Linked DNA regions of Homo sapiens: region 1 is linked to region 2. The links are contacts of gene promoters, found by promoter capture Hi-C in human tissues and cell types (Jung and others, 2019). All regions are on one chromosome and are shown on one strand. The core of a region is centred on a gene start or on the middle of the fragment in contact, and the rest is flanking DNA. Distances in the headings are between cores, read along the strand shown.

Evidence for each region. Contacts are between HindIII fragments. The study calls those that stand out against the background at their distance.
Region 1: a contact is called between a fragment that was not itself captured here and the fragment with the promoter of NEUROD1 in region 2, in 1 of the 25 tissues and cell types used here (mesendoderm cells).

Annotation. Positions count from the first base shown.
Region 1 is chr2:181,635,530-181,640,766 of GRCh38, reverse strand. The region is part of intron 1 of CERKL (CERK like autophagy regulator); the gene reads left to right. Among named protein-coding and RNA genes, the nearest start is that of CERKL, 19 kb to the left of the region's middle. The HindIII fragment of the contact is 3,167 bases long and covers 1-2,909 here.
Region 2 is chr2:181,677,144-181,682,862 of GRCh38, reverse strand. It overlaps NEUROD1 (neuronal differentiation 1), which reads left to right and starts at 2,346. Exons shown (of 2, transcript NM_002500.5): 1 at 2,346-2,433; 2 at 3,992-5,719. The coding sequence starts at 4,003. The coding sequence ends at 5,073. RefSeq lists an enhancer at 1,120-1,696. The HindIII fragment of the contact is 10,799 bases long and covers 1-5,542 here.

The sequences.
Region 1 (5,237 bases), core at 77-2,576, 41 kb after region 2:
AAGTGAATTGCAGAAATCCAAACATGGCAAAGCTAAAGGAATAGAGAACCAGGGCAATGGATATAGAGAACAGAGCAATTGGGTATGCAGGAAGATGCTATTGCCTAGACTGGATGTTTTTGTACCCTCTGTAATTTGAGAAAATGGACCGTCCTTGTTGAAATGGTCAGGGATGTAGTAGATAAATTCATTGCAGTTGTGTAATCTCAGCACTAGAATACTGATCATAACCATATCACTTGTTATCCCACCTAGCCTGCCACTTGATTGGGTTATTAGATTACATTTCAGACATTGACAAGTCTACAAGCATCATTAAAATCCTAAACACAGACTTCTGACCGTATTCCTACCCAAGTTTTAGAAGCACTATGCCAATGACGGGGGTAGTATATGCTGAGCAGGTGAGTTTTGATTGTGTGTGTCTACATGTGTACGTGGGTGTGGTGAGCAACAGGAAGGAACTCTCAGCCATGACTCTAAATGCTCTTGTGTTGGCCAAAATTGGTATAAGCTAGGAGGAGAAACACAAAGGAGAGAGAGGCATGAAGTTGAAGGACATTAAACCATTTGCAAACTTTTGGCATGCAAACCAGAATATGAGGAAACTTAGTGTAATGGGTGACTGAATTCAGAGGTAGACAGGCAATCAGGAAGGTATAGGCACCAAAAATAGTTACCATTGGTGAGCGTTTTTGTTTTTGTCATTGGCATGGTGTTATGAACTTATGTTAAGCCTAAGGGTAAGTCTAAAATAATGTACCAGCTGGCATCAGGGAATTCCCATGTACATTCCTAGATTTTCATTAGAAACAGTGTTCTGGAAACTACCACTGCTGCTACACAGCAGTGCCCAGTGCTTGACTGAAAATAGTGAACACTTAGATTTGTTTACTCTGCCAGGTTCTGTGCTAAGTATCTTATCTTGTTTAACCTTAGCAAAGAAACTATGTAGTCTAGATAGAATTTTTATCCCTAGGGCCCAGAGGTGTTAAATAACTTGCCCAAGGTCATACCAGTAATTTCAGTTGCTGGGGTTCAAAGCTAGGCAGTCTGACTCCAGAGCCTGCACTGTCCCCATTTGGTTATGTTGCTTCCCCAGTTAAGCAAGCAAGAGTCTATCTGACATCTGAGTTGGTGGTAGTAAAGCATCATGGTCTGAACCAAAATAATAAAAACCTTTGAAACAACATTATCTGACTTCTTTCAGGCTTTTAAGACAGTTCCATCATCAACAGCTTATTCCATTTCTCTGGCCACTTCCAGTTTCTGAACAAATGAAGAAAATGGGAGTGATAAATTGGAGTTTTTAACAAGTTTTTTTAAATCTAATTTTTTTTATGGAAACCACCAAACATACCCAAATGTAGGAATAATTATGTAATAAGTCCTCATGTTCAACCCTAAGAGGGGTGAAGCTCTATGTGACCCATTACTGAGTTTAAACAGTTTTCAATTTATGGCCAGTCTTATTTCATCTATACTCTACCCACATCCCTTCTTCCCCTGGAATGATTGAAGTAATTCCTAGGCATCATATAATTTCATCTGTAAGCATCTCAGCATGTATCTCTAGGAGATAAAGATTTTCTAAAAAATCATATTACTACTCTTCAAATTTAAAATAATCTTTATAGTTTTACATATCCAGTTAGTGTCCAGATTTTCCTGATATTTTCTCTATTTTTTAAATATGTCAACCTTGAAATGAGGTCCATATTATAGCTGATGGCTATGCCTTTTAAATTTTCTCATCCACAGATTCTTCTTCCTTTTTTTTCCTTTCAATTTATGTTTTGAACAAACTAGTTTGGCCTATAGTTTCTCATGGGCAAGAATAACCTTCAGACTGGGATGGCCATCACTCTGATACCCGTAAAGGGGATGAGGCAGGTTGGGGAAGGGAGAGCCTCAGACCATGATCAGATGTCACAAGATTTTTGCTTACCTAGGGTGAGGACTTGGGAAAAAGATTGCCCATTAGGAGTCCTGCCTTGGGCAAAAGTGGCCAAACTTCAGCTGTGCTGTCACAGGCTGTGGGCTGCCTTGGAAATGTAGGACCTCAACTCCTCTGAAGTTGAGGTGGAGCTTGAGGGTACGAATCCCTGGTGGCCATTATAATGACTACACTCATTGGGATGGCATGGCAAGTTCATCCTCAAAGATGGATCCTAGCATCCACCATGACCAATGAGGTTTTTTTATTGTTATGATCACTATAAACTCAAGGATTTAAACCTATTAAATGTTTTTCAATTCACAGCAATGATTATTTTTACTGATCTTCAAATTGTCACATTTTGGATTTTTAGACCAATGGGAGCCCCTTCATCTTGACTTCTGAGTTCTTTTGACATTCACTCAGCTGTCTGATAGCTTCCCTGCTTTCTGGAATGGCAAGATATTCCAGGTTCATCTTGAACATTTCATGCTTGAGATATGGAATCAAGCTCATCATCAGAGGGTCCTGGTTCCTTTTACTGGATAGTGGTATTAGAGACCTCAATTTGAGAACTAAGCAACATCATTGCTAAAACTTCCCCTATGTGTACCTTGTTACTTAGGTTTTTCAAAGAACAGAGCTAGAAAATATGTTGGGTTTTTTTGTTTTGTTTTTAAAGAAAAAATGTATCATAGGATTATGCTGATACTTCCAATTCAAGTGCAGGCCTAAGCTTTTCACATTGTCTCTTTTCTCCTACCCTTAAAGTCCTGATTCCTAACTATAACAACATCATTACTCATTTGCTTTATCCTGCATTATGTAGACACAATAGAGTAACAACACCAATGCTGCCAATCAAAAGTATAATTACTGAAACCCACTTAAGATAGTCCTGCAATTTTTTTTTTTGTTCATAGAGTGTACACTACTAGGGAGGTGTAGTCAAATTACTATGTTTTAAAGACACTTGGAATAATTCATATCTGTGAAGTTATACCCCCAACTTATTTGTTTTTTGTATTATTGTTTCATTTTGCTTTTGATGTTTAGGCATTTCTTTTTTAAAAATCAATTTTATAATTACGTGAAATACTTATATGGTTCCAAAATCAAATCTACTAAACAAACTATATTCTAGGAAGTATAGCTTTTATGTTTCCCTTCTATGCTTTTCCTTCCTTCCTGTAGGTAGGAAAGCTTATTTGTTCCTCAAAGCTCTGGGTTGTTCTTTTATTTTATATAAATAAACATGTGCATATATTCTTTTCATTACCCCCACAGTACCCACCGTCTTAAACACATGTACAATATATGTGTTTTTCTACCTTGATTTCTTTCTTACTTAGCAATATGCCCAGAAGTTCACTCTGTAGCGCTTTACATCAGCATCAAAATCCATTATGTACTATCGTTTATTGACCTCTCTGTTGGAGAAATTTGGATTGTTTCTAGTCATTTTTGTTATCGCAAATAGTGGTTTAATAAAAAACTTTACTTTCCGTTTTTTGTTTTTCAATGTGCTTTTAGGATAGATGCCTAGAAGTGAGATTGTTGAGTCAAAGAATAAATGTGTTAATAATTTTGCTCAATATTACCAAATTCTTTCAAAAGGGTTGTGCAATTTTGCTTTTTAAAATCATTATTGTATAAGGGCATGTATTTCCTGAAAATTTCTCCAGAAGAGTTTATTGCCAAACTTTAAAAAAACAGCCTGATACATAATAAATGATATCTCAGCATAGTTTAAATTTGCATTTTTCTTGTTAAATCATTCATGTTTTTACTGTAGTCCTCCTAACATTTAGGGAGCACCAATTATGGGGTCTCTAGAAGGTTCCAGGATTCTGTAATCAATTTGACATGATTTCTGTCTTCAGATATTCACAATCTTCAGGAAGATATATTGACAAAAGAATAACTACATGATCTATTTTGTGTGCAACTTAGTACTTACAGAGCATTATAAATGCACATGGAAAAATAGGTAAAGGAGAAAATCATTCTCTGTTGGGCGGGCTGAGGGGGAAGTCAGGAAAAGCTACAGAGAGGTTCGAGGGTAAACTTTAATGTGGGCCTTGAAGTATGATTTGGAGTTAGCAAGACAGACAAAGGAGCAAGGAAACCATTCTAGAAAAAGAAAATTTTGAAAAATCTCCAGAAAAGGATGCTTTGGCCTATTTGGAAAATAACATTGTCTTATTTATGGGGGAGATGACAGTGCTTTGTTTTTAGTCAGTAGTTTATACAGGACTTTGAATAGCATGCAAGGAAGTTGGCGTCTCAACCTGAAAATTGAGGAAGGTGTGACAAAGGCTGGGCATTAGGTGAGATCAAGTATTTCTGTTTTTTTTTTTGGTAAATTAGGTAGCAGGATAGATTATAAATGGGCTCCACACTGAGGAGCCCAGTGTGATGGCTGATCCAGCAGATCAGGGGGCAGTGGCTGCAAAGCTGGGAGAATGGCAAGGTAAGCCTGGATGCAAGGGATATTGTCAAAGACAAAATTTGGGGGATGTGAGGCTTAAAAGGGAAATAAATAATGGTGATGGTGAGATTTCTAGCTTGGGCAGTGGGATAGATAGTAGACGCTGCGCAAATTCGTTTTTAAATCAGCAGAATGAGAAGCATCTTATTTGAAATATATTCTACCAAATCTTAGCATCAAATGTGCTAGTGACTAGCAAAATATGTAAACAGAAGGGAAGTAGCTTGAAAAGTACACAAACTGGAGAAATTGCTCCTGAAGGACTGTAAGTTGAACCCTTTTAAGCCTAAGATCTGTATTTCCTATGAGCCCTAGGCTCTTTCCTTGTGTATCCTGTTTCTTATTAGAGTAGAGGCTACTTAAAAATAATCATAGTTTAAAGCGCTCTATTTTCAGAAAACATTATTCATTAGATGTTAGTAAATAATGTAATCTTTATACATTCATAATATTTCTGCATTATTGGAGTGTAAAAAGTCAGTGAAATAGTCATTTGTAAAGATGTCAGTTTTTATCTGTGGAAAATAGCTGTTCATACCATTTTAAGCTTAAAAGTTCTTCATTTACTTCTTAAAATATCCATGTTGGTATTATTTTGTCTAATACAAGTAATTAATATTTACCCCAAATTAAGCTTTTAAGTTTACTAAATGTTACAAACATAATTCAAAGCACTGTTTAGTGTCCATCTGTGCAGGAAAAATAAGATCAATACAATTGAGCAGCTGTTAGCATGTATTGGTTTCCTTATATTTTAAGTATGTTTTCATGTTTTGAAGGTGTAAAGGGATGACAGTATGTTTTGTT
Region 2 (5,719 bases), core at 1,097-3,596:
GGTTTCTGCTTTCTGGGGGTGAGGACAAGGATTTAGCAGAGGGACCTCTAGGCTACCCCTGACCTCGAAGCTAGCTGGAGTCCTTTCTCCCACTCCGTCCCCAGTTCTCCTCCGGAACTCCCCAAAGTTGGAAAAATGAGAGCCTAGGCACGAGTTGCATATGCCTGCGGCATAGTGTGCTGCCAGTCGGGGCAGCTGCCGGGTGAGGGGCAGTACTTAACCTGGCCCTGCCGCAAACGTCGGGCTGTGTACTATCTTCTAAGGGCTAGTACTCCGACGCCCTCGAGTTTTAGCCCAACACTGAAGATACAGACAGTACAGGGGTAAATCCTGGGCCCAGGCTCCTGGGTGAATTATTTTATCCTCCCCTATGCGCTTTGTCAGCCAAGTGAATGTAGAAAAGCAAGCAAAACTCCAGAACCCCACAACGATTCACGCCACGCTTCGGTGGCACAACTCTTTTCTTCCCCTTTTAGATTAGTACTGTGCAGGGAAGGCTGCACCTGCTACCTTCAGACACCGGGGATCTGGCTAGGACCCTCTTCCTCTACCCCTACTCTCTCCTCCCGTCCCCACCCTCTCCCAGATGCACCCCAATCCAGCCTCTCAACCCTGTCGCTGTTTGCAAACTCGAGGGATGTTTAGTGCAATTGCCTTTAAATAAGCAATTCACGTAAGAGGTATTTATTGCAGAGGGTTTCAGGTCTGGGAGGGGGTAAGGAGTTAGTTAATGAAGGATTAGAGGCAAAGCTGGGAAAGAACGAGTAGACAGGCCAGTTTCTTTCTTTCTTTTTAAAATCTATTATTCTGGAAAACCCTTGTTCGAAAAGAGTAAAGAATTGCTATTTGGGCAACAATATGGCTCCTTCAGAACTGGTCGAGAATTTCTGTGGTCTTTGCTTGACCTTCAAGTTGGGAGTTTCAAATCAGAGGCTTTGAAGTCTGGAGGAGTTCGCAGCCATTAATCCTTCCGGGGTTGTGCTAAAGGCGTTTCTAGAAAGAGATCGGAAAGACCCGTTCAGCACAGGCCCATTGCATCTTCTCTTTGAAAACGCTTGTCTGAATCAAGTATCTTATACAGACCCGAGACTGAGGGGAGCAAGAGCGCAGGTCCGGCTGTGGCGAGGTGTCCACCACCGTACTTGTGGTCAATGCCTGGACTAGAGAGCCGAGGCCGTCCAGGGCGGGCTGGCCAGGGAACCAGAAGCGTCCCTGGACTGGCTGAGTGAGGGTGCCCTTTCCAGCAACCCAGTGGCCATGGTTAAAAGGCAGAATACAACCGTCAAAGAAGTCCCCAGCTCCCACATAAGAGAGCGCAAAGGCCAATGGAACCAAGGCCTCCTCGCGAGAACTAGCTCGCTTTGAGGACAAGATCCTGGGGATGGAGGTGGGGACTGACGTAGTGAGAGGGTCTGGAGGAACAGTCGTAGCTGAAGGTCAGGACATGAAGAATTGCACGTATGGTAGGGATAGAATGGCAGGTACAACTTTTCTGTACTGAAGGAACTGGGAGAGGACGATCCGGTTAGGGAGGTTGGGGAACTAATCTCAACGCTGCGTTTACAGATGAAGCCGCTTTTATATGGCGTATATGTTTGCTTAGAGGGGCCGACGGAGATTAGGAGAAGCCATCCTTTGGCGCCAATGATCAAAGCGTCTGCCAAGGAGAAGAAGCCAAGGGATGGGCCTTTCAGAGAGGGCAAGGAGTCATGCTGCTCTGGATGCCAGTGTCAGGACAAGAAATCGAAAGGAGCGAGGACTCTTCACTGCGTGCCTCAGTCTCCCCGCTTCTGCCTCTTTCACCTCTGTCCTACTTCCGGCGCGAAAGCAGGCCACTCGCTCTGATCTAGACCTAGTTAACATTAGCTTTTCCCTTCCTTCCCTCAAATCCCCTCCCCCCTCTATCCCCGTCCCTTCTGCCGCCTGAAAGGGTTAATCTCTCCTGCGGGTAAAAACAGGTCCGCGGAGTCTCTAACTGGCGACAGATGGGCCACTTTCTTCTGGCCACAAAGGGGCCGGAATGGAGCGCTCCGCGGCATACAAATGGGCAGGTCACGTGGTTCCAGGCTCTTGGCTGGACCGGGAAGACCATATGGCGCATGCCGGGGAGGAAGGAGGAGGGGCGGGGGTAGGGGTGGAGGGTGAGGGGAGCGGTTGTCGGAGGAGGGCGGGAGACGAGCAAGGCGTGGGGAGAAGTGGGGAGGAGGGGAGAACGGGGAGCGCACAGCCTGGACGCGTGCGCAGGCGTCAGGCGCATAGACCTGCTAGCCCCTCAGCTAGCGGCCCCGCCCGCGCTTAGCATCACTAACTGGGCTATATAACCTGAGCGCCCGCGCGGCCACGACACGAGGAATTCGCCCACGCAGGAGGCGCGGCGTCCGGAGGCCCCAGGGTTATGAGACTATCACTGCTCAGGACCTACTAACAACAAAGGTAATTACAGTTCTTTCATTTTTTTGCCCCAGAATAGAAGCAATAACTGAAGACTGATGAACCTACATATTCTGTATGTGTGCGTTTGCGAGAGTGTGTATGTGTATTGAGACCAGCATCCCCCTCCATAATTGCCCATAAGTACTCACACATAATGAGTCGTGTCACTCAAGTACCCCCTGCAGGCTTTCTAATTTAAATTTTAAAAATTTGGGTTTCTTTTGTGGATAGCATAGGAGCTTCTTGGATTTTTTAAAAGAATGCACGGTAACTATGATTATCTGCTAGTGCTGATTTTAAAGTCCCAAAAGCAATAATGACTTCACTTTCTCACTTCTTACAGTAAGAAAAAAAAATCTATGTTATCAATATATATTTTGTGTGCATGTATTTTACGCACATTGGGAGTGTCAAGCTGTGTTTTCAGTGAATGAAAGGGACATGGATACCTTGAGTATTCACACCATGGAAAATAAATCAGGTTCAGAGATAGTTTAGTTGAGAGGGGGGAAAGTGGAGAAAGGGAGAGGGACTCACTCCTGCTACCTGTTACCGCTCCAGAGGCGGCCAAGTCCCCAGCAGCCACTACTGGAGCCAGAAATTCAGTTGTTTTACTAAAGGCTTTTTATTTTCCTTACTAGAAGCGGCAACTTCGCGGTTGCCAATCGCTGACCATTATAATTACTCAATCTTTTAAAGGGAGGTTTGAGGCGAACTTTGAAAAGCCCCAATAAAGAGCGGGCGGCCCTTTCAATGGGCTGTTTATTAGAGAGGAGCCTTCCGCACCTGATCCCCGGCGCGTGGGAGAGCGCTCTGCGCCGCGCCCCCAGCCCTCGCCCTGCAGCTAGCGCTTTTGTACAAGGTGGAAATTTAGCGGTGGGCCAGAGATGGAAGGCAAGAAAAGAAAGGCGAGGGAGGGGTGGAAGACCCTGTCCACTTTTGTTGCCAAATGTTACATTGATGGTGAAACAATTTGGTGGAAACTATTTTTCCTCCTTTCTGCATTTGCTTTTCAGTATCCCGTCGATGTAATCTTCTTAAAAATCGCTGCCAGTATTAGTAAATTACGCAATGGCTGTTCAACTTAAATCGCTAAGTATCTGGAAGCCAGGACAGAAATGGAAGTAGAATGTGTGATTTTACAGCTTTTTTTTTTTTTTATGGAGTTGTGAGTAACTTTGAACACATTTGGATAAACATGAAGTCGCTGAAATGTACAGTCATTTCCACACACATTATCCTGTCGGGCAACCACCATAAACACATTTAAGTTAATCACTAGGATACAAACACATATGCGTGAGTGGTGTACACATATACATATTCACTACCCTCCCCCAGTCCTGTCCTCACTCCTACGTACTAGCGGGGCACACGCACGCGCCATTATAAAACACTGCATTTAACTTTTTCTCAGAGGCATTCATTTTGTAATGGGCAGGTACTTTTCGCAAGCATTTGTACAGGTTTAGGGAGTGGAAGCTGAAGGCGTATCTGGCTTTTGAATATAGCGTTTTTCTGCTTTTCTTTCTGTTTGCCTCTCCCTTGTTGAATGTAGGAAATCGAAACATGACCAAATCGTACAGCGAGAGTGGGCTGATGGGCGAGCCTCAGCCCCAAGGTCCTCCAAGCTGGACAGACGAGTGTCTCAGTTCTCAGGACGAGGAGCACGAGGCAGACAAGAAGGAGGACGACCTCGAAACCATGAACGCAGAGGAGGACTCACTGAGGAACGGGGGAGAGGAGGAGGACGAAGATGAGGACCTGGAAGAGGAGGAAGAAGAGGAAGAGGAGGATGACGATCAAAAGCCCAAGAGACGCGGCCCCAAAAAGAAGAAGATGACTAAGGCTCGCCTGGAGCGTTTTAAATTGAGACGCATGAAGGCTAACGCCCGGGAGCGGAACCGCATGCACGGACTGAACGCGGCGCTAGACAACCTGCGCAAGGTGGTGCCTTGCTATTCTAAGACGCAGAAGCTGTCCAAAATCGAGACTCTGCGCTTGGCCAAGAACTACATCTGGGCTCTGTCGGAGATCCTGCGCTCAGGCAAAAGCCCAGACCTGGTCTCCTTCGTTCAGACGCTTTGCAAGGGCTTATCCCAACCCACCACCAACCTGGTTGCGGGCTGCCTGCAACTCAATCCTCGGACTTTTCTGCCTGAGCAGAACCAGGACATGCCCCCCCACCTGCCGACGGCCAGCGCTTCCTTCCCTGTACACCCCTACTCCTACCAGTCGCCTGGGCTGCCCAGTCCGCCTTACGGTACCATGGACAGCTCCCATGTCTTCCACGTTAAGCCTCCGCCGCACGCCTACAGCGCAGCGCTGGAGCCCTTCTTTGAAAGCCCTCTGACTGATTGCACCAGCCCTTCCTTTGATGGACCCCTCAGCCCGCCGCTCAGCATCAATGGCAACTTCTCTTTCAAACACGAACCGTCCGCCGAGTTTGAGAAAAATTATGCCTTTACCATGCACTATCCTGCAGCGACACTGGCAGGGGCCCAAAGCCACGGATCAATCTTCTCAGGCACCGCTGCCCCTCGCTGCGAGATCCCCATAGACAATATTATGTCCTTCGATAGCCATTCACATCATGAGCGAGTCATGAGTGCCCAGCTCAATGCCATATTTCATGATTAGAGGCACGCCAGTTTCACCATTTCCGGGAAACGAACCCACTGTGCTTACAGTGACTGTCGTGTTTACAAAAGGCAGCCCTTTGGGTACTACTGCTGCAAAGTGCAAATACTCCAAGCTTCAAGTGATATATGTATTTATTGTCATTACTGCCTTTGGAAGAAACAGGGGATCAAAGTTCCTGTTCACCTTATGTATTATTTTCTATAGCTCTTCTATTTAAAAAATAAAAAAATACAGTAAAGTTTAAAAAATACACCACGAATTTGGTGTGGCTGTATTCAGATCGTATTAATTATCTGATCGGGATAACAAAATCACAAGCAATAATTAGGATCTATGCAATTTTTAAACTAGTAATGGGCCAATTAAAATATATATAAATATATATTTTTCAACCAGCATTTTACTACTTGTTACCTTTCCCATGCTGAATTATTTTGTTGTGATTTTGTACAGAATTTTTAATGACTTTTTATAATGTGGATTTCCTATTTTAAAACCATGCAGCTTCATCAATTTTTATACATATCAGAAAAGTAGAATTATATCTAATTTATACAAAATAATTTAACTAATTTAAACCAGCAGAAAAGTGCTTAGAAAGTTATTGTGTTGCCTTAGCACTTCTTTCCTCTCCAATTGTAAA